Regions from separate parts of the Homo sapiens genome. Here region 1 is linked to region 2. The links are contacts of gene promoters, found by promoter capture Hi-C in blood cells and fetal thymus (Javierre and others, 2016). All regions are on one chromosome and are shown on one strand. The core of a region is centred on a gene start or on the middle of the fragment in contact, and the rest is flanking DNA. Distances in the headings are between cores, read along the strand shown.

The links. Contacts are between HindIII fragments. The CHiCAGO score rates a contact against its expected background, and 5 or more counts as called.
Region 1: a contact is called between a fragment that was not itself captured here and the fragment with the promoter of GRM1 in region 2, in 1 of 17 cell types (endothelial precursors). The highest score is 7.2, in endothelial precursors.

The regions. Positions count from the first base shown.
Region 1 is chr6:146,617,153-146,621,594 of GRCh38, forward strand. All of the region lies in intron 1 of ADGB (androglobin), which reads left to right. Among named protein-coding and RNA genes, the nearest start is that of ADGB, 20 kb to the left of the region's middle. The HindIII fragment of the contact is 2,548 bases long and covers 830-3,377 here.
Region 2 is chr6:146,026,866-146,031,820 of GRCh38, forward strand. It overlaps GRM1 (glutamate metabotropic receptor 1), which reads left to right and starts at 2,197. Exons shown (of 8, transcript NM_001278064.2): 1 at 2,197-3,352. The coding sequence starts at 2,653. RefSeq lists enhancers at 2,015-2,515, 2,516-3,016. The HindIII fragment of the contact is 3,742 bases long and covers 48-3,789 here.

The DNA of each region.
Region 1 (4,442 bases), core at 854-3,353, 590 kb after region 2:
TCATTCACTTCTTTTGTTGCATTTATTTATAGGTATTTTATTGTCTTTTAGCTATTATAAATGAGATTGCTTTCTTGATTTCTTTTTCAATTGTTCACAGTTGGTGTATGAAAATGCTACCTATTTTTGTATGTTGATTTGTGTGCTGCAACTTTCCTGAATTCATTTTTCAGTTCTGTAATTTGGTGGAGTCTTTAGGTTTCTCTAAACATAAGATCATGTCACCTGGGAGCAAGTATAATTGGCTTCTTTCTTTCCAATTTGGATGCCCTTTCTTTCTTTCTCTTGCCTAATTGGTTTGGCTAGGACTTCCCATACAATGTTGAATGAAAGCGGTAAAAGTGGGCATCATTGTCTTGTTCCAGATATTAGAGGAAAGGCTTTCAATTTTTTTTTCCTATTTAGTATGATGCTAGCTGTGGGTTTGTTATATGTGACCTTCATTGTTTTCAGGTATATTCCTTCTATGCGCAATTTATGTAGAGTTTTTATCATGACGGGTTATTAAATTTTATCAAATGCATTTTCAATTATCTATTGAAATAATCATATGGTTTTTCTTCTTGATTCCATTGATGCTATGCGTCTCTTATTGATTTGCATATGTTGAACCATCCAAGCATCCCTGGGCTGAATCCCACTTTATCACAGTATATGATTTTTTAAATGTGCTGTTGAATTCGGTTTGCCAGGACAGTTGTTCTTTGAACAACATGGGGCTTAGAGCACCAACCCCTGCACAGTAGAAATTTGTGTATAACTTTTGAATCCCCAAAACCTTAAATACTAGTAGCTTACTGCTGAGTGAAAGCCTTACCAATAACATAAAAGCTTGATTAACACATATTTTGTGTGTCATATGTATATGTTATATATACTGCATTCTTATAATAAAGTAACCTAGAGATAGGAAAATGTTATTTAGAAAATCATAAAGAAGAGAAAAATATATTTACTGTTTATTAAATGAAATTGGATTATCATAAAGGTCTCCATCATAACACCAATTTGTTGGTTTACAGTTGTTCATAACAGTCTCTAATTATCCTTTGTATTTTTGTAGTTATAATGTTTCCTTTGTTGTCTCAGATTTTATTTATTTGAGTCTTACGGTTTTTTTTTTCTTAGTCAAGCTAAAAGTTTCTCTATTTGTTTTATCTTTTCAAAAAATGAACTTTTTATTTTGTGGATTTTTTGTATATTTTTATTCGTCAGAAATAGCTCTGATATTTATTATTTCTTTTCTTCCACTAATGTTGTGTTTGGTTTGTTCTTGCCTTTCTAGTTCCTTGAAGTGCATTATTAAGTTATTTGGTCTTTCTACTTTTTTGATGAAAGTGTTTATTCATGTAAACTTTCACCTTAGAACTGCTTTTGTCATATCCTGCAGTTCTTGTGTTTCCATGTTTATTTGTCTCAATAAATTTTTAAATTTCCTTTTTAATTTCTTCAGTTACACATTTGTTGATCAGGTGCATGTTGTTTAATCACCATGAATTTTTACAGTTTCCAGCATTCCTTTTGCTTTCATTTTGTTTTATTCCATTATAGTCAGAAAAGATACTTGATATGATTTTGATTTTTTAAAATTTGATAAAACTTCTTTTGTGACCTAACATATGGTCTGTCCTGGAGAATGTTTCATGTGCTGTTGAGAAAATGTGTTTTCTGCAGCAGAGGGATGAAATGTTATGTAAATGTCTGTTAGGGCTCTTTCATCTGGAGTGCAGTGTAACTCCAATGTTTCTTTGTTGATTTTCTGTCTAGATCATCTGTCCAATGCTGAAATCCTCTATTGGATTGAAATCCTCTATTACTCTTGTATTGCTGTCCATTTCTCCCTCTATGTCTATTAATATTTGCTTTACATATCTGAGTTCTCCAGTATTAGGTGCATATATTTTTACAATTGCTACATCCTCTTGCTGTATTTACCCCTTTATCATTATGTAATAACCATATATATATAGATAGATAGATATAGATATATTACAATTCTTGACTTAAAGTTTGTTTTTTCTGAATAAGTATAGCTATTTCTGCTCTTTTTTGGTTTTTATTTGTGGGAATATGTTTTTCCATCTCTACACTTTCAGTATGTATGTGTCCTTATGGGCAAAGTGAGTTTGTCATAGACAGAATATTTGGATCATTTTTTAAAAATACATTCAGCCACTCTATTTTTTAATAGGATAATTTAATCAATTTACATTCAAGGTTATTATTGATAGATAACGGTTTATTACTGCCATTTTGATACTTGTTTTTGGGATTTTAAAATAGATCCTTTCTTCCTTTTCCCACCCTCTTACTGTATTTCTTTATAGCTAAATAAGTTTCACTAGCAGTATGTTTTGATTCTCTGCTATTTATTTTTAGTGTATCTATTATAGGTTTTTGCTTTATGGTTACCATGAGGCATACAGAAAATATCTTACAGTTATAACACGTTATTTTAAATTGCTAATGACTTAATCTTGATCACAGTGAAAGCAACAACAAAAATTCTCAACTTCAACATCATCCCCATCCCAACATTGTGACTTTTTGGTATTTCAATTTATGTCTTTTTCTATTTACTATTTACTAATTAACTGTTGTAATTATTTTTAATACTTTTGTCTTTTAGACTTCCTATTAAAAGTATAAATGGTTTACTTAGCCCAGTTACAGTTTTAGAATATTCTGGATTTCTTTTTTCTTATTTTACCAGTCAGTTTAATAACTGCAGATGTTTTTGTTATATGTTAGCATCCAGTTTCTTCTGTATTGAAAAACTCTCTTTTGGTATTTCGTGTAAGACAAGTCTGGTGTTGGTGAATTCCCTCAGCCTTTGTTTGTCTGGGAAAGTCTTTATCTCTCCTTTGAGTTTGAAAGATTGCTTTGCTGGGTATAATCTTACTGTTTGGCAGTATTTTTTCTTCAGCACTTTGAATATCACATTCCAGTCTCTCCTGACTTGCGGGATTTATGCTGAGAAGCCCCCTGAAAGTTATATTGGGACTCCATTGAATGTGATATTTTTATTTTCTCTTGCTGCTTTGATGATTCTTTGTCTTTAATTTTTGGTAACTTAATTATGATGTGCCTTGGGGAATCCCTCTTCGGGTTGAATTTGATTGGTTATGTCTGAGCGTCCTCTCTTTACCTGAAGGTTGTAATCTTTCTCCAGGTTTGGGAAATTTTCAGCCATTATTTCTTTAGATATGCTTTCTAGGCATTTTTCTTTCTTGTTTCCTTCAGAAATTCCTATTGCACAGATATTAATTCACTTGATTCTCTTGTCCCATAATTCTTGTAGGTTTTCTTCACTCACTTTTATTCTTTTTTTTTCTTTTTGCTCCACTGGTTGGATAATTTTATATGTTCCATCTTCAAGCTTGCTAATTCTTTCTTCTGTTTGAGAATATCTGTTGTTGAAGCTTTCTAATGATTTTTTTCAGGTCAGTTATTTTATTCTGTATTGCTAAGACTTCTATTTGGTTTTTGAAAAATTGTTTCTATTTCTTTGTCGTATTTCTCATTTTGTTTTTAGATTGTTTTCCAAATTTTATTTAGTTTTCTGTCAGGTATTTCTGTGATTCTCTAAACCTCTTTAAGAGAATTATTCTAAATACTCTGCCAGATCTCATAGATCTTCAAATCTTCTGGGTCAATTACTGGAGATTTGTTGGTTTCTTTTGGTGATGTCATATTTCCTGAGTTTTCGCAACTCTTATGTTGATTCCTGAGCATTTGATGAGACAGCCACTTCCAGTTTTTGCTGACATTCTTTGGTGGTTTTAGACTTTTACTACTTAGTATTGACTCTTAAACACTGCTCTACTGTTGCTTTCCATCCTGGGAAGAACTTATGTTGAGCACCAGGACTAAAACACTGCACTATAACTAACATGTTGCCCTGTTACTGTTTCCTCGTGTAGAAAAAACTTACAGTGAGCACCAAAACTTAAACTTAGACCCATAACTATATTGCATCCCTGCCATTGTTTTCTGGTCTTGGGAAGACTTAAGTTGGCACTAGGTATTAATTCTGATCTTTTAGTTTTTTTCCAGGCCAGGAAAATCCAGCTAGGGATTTAGGCATTCCCATGGATTGTGCCATCTGTGGCACATAAAAGAGACTGGCCAGTCTCTTTAATGTGGCACCCCCACTGACTGGAGCACAAAGTAGCTGCCAAAATCCATGCATCAGTTACTGTGATTAGTGCCCAGTTCATCACAGGTAGTTCAGCTTTCCTGGTACACCCAATTGCTCCCCTGGAAAGGAGTCAGGGTGGGCTTCCCATGAAGATTCCAAAAGGTGAGGAGATTGACCGTCCACCTCTCATTTCCTCCAATCACCATGGAAACCACAGGTCTAGAGAAATCCTCTTGAGTGGTTATGCCAGCTTGGGAGAGGGGCTGGCACAGTCTAAAATGACTATTCTAGTCACAACTTC
Region 2 (4,955 bases), core at 947-3,446:
GACCAACGTAAGCTGATCTCTCTGCTCTGCAGATGACACAAATAGAAAGCTTTGAACAAGAGTAGAAAGACACACTGTCACTTGTCTTTTCCCCTGAAAAAGCCGGGCCACATTCTGCTCAGCCAACATGTTCCCAGAGGAATGTGATTTAACTTCCGCTTTTCACACAGTCAGAAGCAACACCATAGACCTGTAGGGAAGGTGATGGCCGCCTGGGAGGAATTTGGATAAGTATTTGTCACTCCAGTATTTTCATGTGACCTGACTCTCATTCTCAATTTAGTTACATCTTGACCTGAAAATGCAGCCACAATATGTCTCTCTTCATTTGGCATACCTTAATTCATAATGGGCATGCCTGTCCTTTCCCTTCTCCCACCCTATGCAGCCTCTTCCTGATTTCCCTTGCAATCTACTAATAGAGCCTTTCTTTAGATGTCTGTACATGTGTTTACACTCTGTTTCCCTCTGTAGGGACTTTACTCGCAGAAAGAGAAAATATATTTGAGTCCCTGAGATATATATACAAAGATATCTACCCCAAAGCAGCCTAGGCAGTTCTCCACTTCTTTGGCCAGATTGTCTGACTATTCACGTATCTGGCAGCTTCTATACGACCCCTCATATAGTAAAGGAATTAATATTCCCCACTTCCTCCTAGTTTGTCTCCCCTCCTCCCTCTATCAAACGACTGATTTTTATACATGAGATAATAGACAAGCCTTGGGTGACCTGTTTTTTTTTTTCTTCCCTCCCCCTCTTTTTCCCTTGCGGTAAAATAGTGCTGAAGAAAGAGGGCACTAGTGTACAGCCCAGATCGCATCCTTGCACCGTCTGGATTAGAGCTGAGGCGTCTGCAAGCCGAGCGTGGCCACGGTCCTCTGGCCCCGGGACCATAGCGCTGTCTACCCCGACTCAGGTACTCAGGTATGTCTCAAGTCCATGTCCTCCAAACAGACTCAGGTGAGCGGACACTTCCTCCGGTGAAACCCACCCACAACGGCAGACAAAGTCCCAGTCTATCAGATTTTCCTCCGGGTCCCAGGCGCATTCTCGCTTATGTATTTCTTTTCGTCCTGTATCCTCAGGAAGAGTCGGGACCAATGGGTGCCTGGGTTTTCTTTCTCCTTTTTCTGCCTCACCTCCTGTGCTCTCCTCGCCCGCTCCCATAGCCCCCTTTTCGTCGACTCTCACCTTGAGAAAAGGAGCAGGGGAGGAACGGGAGAGGGAGCCAACTTCAGCCCCGCAGGCGGCTGAGATTTGGCGCCTCTGTCCCCAAGCGGGTGGGTTTGGATATATACCTGCACAAGCGGTGCAAGGTGATGAGAATGAGGGCGGAGGGGCGGTGGGGACTCGAGTGGAAGGGAGTGTGTGTGTGTGTGTGTGTGTGTGTGTGTGTGTGTGTGTGTGTGTATGGGTAAAGAACTCAGAGGAGGGAGGTTGAAAGAGCAAAGCGGGTCAGGGAATTGCAACTCACTGGTCAAAGCGTCCCTTGCAGGCCCTGCCAGGGAATGTCTGGCTGGACCGAGCACTGTCCAGGGTCCTGAAGGCGGCAGGGCTCAGGCTGCCGCGGCGAGAGCAACCCGGAAGCTCCCCTCCGTTCCCTTTCTAGCAACTATGCAAACCCCAAAGCAAGCGCAGGACCCCCCCTAACCCGTCCACCCACCGCGGGAAACAAGTTACCTTATCTGCACCCCTTCTTCTTGAACATACACAGCAAGCCTGACTTCTTACGGGGGAAACATACCAAACTCCTCCATACGGAGACTTTACCAGGCGTTGCCTTAGTAACTAATGTGGATTTTCTTCAAGCTGGCAAATTTATATTTACAGCTGATTTTATGTCAGGGCTTCTTCAACCCCTCAAAATTAAAGTAAAAGGTGCATCCTTTGTTTACGTTTATTTTAAAGTCGCGCTTCCACCTTTACAATGAGTTTCCAAATTTTCTTCTGAAAAAAAGTTGATCTTTTCCAATCCGGAAAGTTCTCTTGGGTTGAAGGACCTAGCTCCTCCCCTCCTCTCTGCTCACCTTCCCCACCGCCCTCCAAGTTAGAAAGCATGATAGGTTTTAGGGGACCAGGAAACGACTTAAGGTTGGAGGAGCGGGCGAGTTGGCGGGGCTCTGCGCCGCCTGGACCCGTGAGGACAGAGGGGGCAGGACACCCCGCCTTCCTCAGTGACCACAGCTGCGCTCCAAGCTGTTCCTGCAGCCGATATCAGGATGTGCCGAAATGAAACGGACAAGGCAACTGTTAACATTATAGACCCCAGAGTTTTAACACAGGTCCTCTGATGACAAGGTTGTGATTTTTCTCTGTCTTTTGTCAGCAGCATCTAGCTCACCGCTGCCAACACGACTTCCACTGTACTCTTGATCAATTTACCTTGATGCACTACCGGTGAAGAACGGGGACTCGAATTCCCTTACAAACGCCTCCAGCTTGTAGAGGCGGTCGTGGAGGACCCAGAGGAGGAGACGAAGGGGAAGGAGGCGGTGGTGGAGGAGGCAAAGGCCTTGGACGACCATTGTTGGCGAGGGGCACCACTCCGGGAGAGGCGGCGCTGGGCGTCTTGGGGGTGCGCGCCGGGAGCCTGCAGCGGGACCAGCGTGGGAACGCGGCTGGCAGGCTGTGGACCTCGTCCTCACCACCATGGTCGGGCTCCTTTTGTTTTTTTTCCCAGCGATCTTTTTGGAGGTGTCCCTTCTCCCCAGAAGCCCCGGCAGGAAAGTGTTGCTGGCAGGAGCGTCGTCTCAGCGCTCGGTGGCCAGAATGGACGGAGATGTCATCATTGGAGCCCTCTTCTCAGTCCATCACCAGCCTCCGGCCGAGAAAGTGCCCGAGAGGAAGTGTGGGGAGATCAGGGAGCAGTATGGCATCCAGAGGGTGGAGGCCATGTTCCACACGTTGGATAAGATCAACGCGGACCCGGTCCTCCTGCCCAACATCACCCTGGGCAGTGAGATCCGGGACTCCTGCTGGCACTCTTCCGTGGCTCTGGAACAGAGCATTGAGTTCATTAGGGACTCTCTGATTTCCATTCGAGATGAGAAGGATGGGATCAACCGGTGTCTGCCTGACGGCCAGTCCCTCCCCCCAGGCAGGACTAAGAAGCCCATTGCGGGAGTGATCGGTCCCGGCTCCAGCTCTGTAGCCATTCAAGTGCAGAACCTGCTCCAGCTCTTCGACATCCCCCAGATCGCTTATTCAGCCACAAGCATCGACCTGAGTGACAAAACTTTGTACAAATACTTCCTGAGGGTTGTCCCTTCTGACACTTTGCAGGCAAGGGCCATGCTTGACATAGTCAAACGTTACAATTGGACCTATGTCTCTGCAGTCCACACGGAAGGTAGGCATTATATTTGGGAAAGAAGGGTACTGAGAAAGTCAGGGCAATGCATGATGTGCTCCTGGGATCATAGTATTGTTCCTGTTTATTTCTAGCACTGTGGGGAACGGAGTTTACCCTTCTCAGTACTGCCCACCCAGGCATTGCCTTTTATCCTCATTTCCTTACAATTATAGTGTAGGAAAATTGTACCCCATAGAATATCTGAGGATAATAGGAGCTGAAAGGGTATCAAACTTTCCATGCAAAGTGTCCAGCAGTAGATTTGACTTGAATACTTGTTTGCCCTCATATTTTGAGTTTGCGTTTGGAAGGCTTATTTGTCCAAGGTGTTATATTGCCCTTCAGTGACTGGCTATGACTTTCCAGGTGTAATGAGTTAATTCAGTGTGAGTGATTGGCAAAAAGAAGTTACTATTCCACAAATAGGACTTCAAAGCTTTATCTTTCTTTAACAGTTGAAGATTTTCTTTGTCCTCTTGTACCCCTTCTTACATATCCAAAACTTTCCTGTGAATGTAGGATTAATGCAGTCATCTCCCTCAGTATATCAGAAACTTATATTTTTACTTCTGGAGTACCTTAGTTACAAAGAAAAAGTAAGTAATTTAAATAATGTATTTTCTTCTTACTTTATAGGCTAAAATCATCCAGATTCCCTCACTCCCCCAAGAATTATCTTGTTTTATGAGAAATAACACTGGTGACCACTTGGATTTGAGTTTTGGTTTCTAGTCTTTTTTCTTCTAACACAATGAACTTACATATTAGAATTAAAGTTAGATCAGTTATAAAATACTAATGAATGGATAGCAGATATTAGGTTTATAATGTCTTTCTAAAATGCAATAGATTAACCTAAGGTTAAAAGCTTTGATTTTTCCAGAGACTTATGGATGTGAATTTTCAAAAATTTTTTATATAAAGATTTTCTAGACTCTCTTCACCTTAGGTTATATACATTTTTTAATAAAAGGGGATTTCTGAGCTCAGCTACTCTTAAGTCCCCCAGTAGGTTTATGAAAAAGCTGAAGCCCTGGTTATAAATTAACATCTAGGACAATTCACATGTATAAGCTGGCAGAAGAAGACAATCTTGCTGGTATTTCTGTATTCATATTTCTTCAACTCAAATGACTTTCAAGAAGCCATAGGCATGGCTCCATGTTTTTTTAATATTTCCATAATATTCAGTTACTGGCGTGAGGTCTGATTATAGAAATTGACAGCATCCATAGTGAAGTGATTATATGGTTATCATTATTGAAAACATATACTTTATAAAGGGAACAGAATTTTCAGAACAAACATAAATGATATAGGATTACACATTATAATTTCAGATTTTGCTTTTGGAAAAAACTATCTGCTGTGATATTATAACTTTATAATAACTGACTTATGCTTCTGAAGCTTGATTTTTAATCATGAACTGCGTATCTCTTTTTGAACAAAAATTCATTACTTTTTTAAGACTCAAAGTATTAATTCCTTATATTTTAATATTTAACTTTACTACATGTTAATGTTTAGCATAGTTTCTTTAGTGCTTGCTTAAATGAAACATCCTGAAAGAGCAAGTTAAAATGTGTTAAATATCATC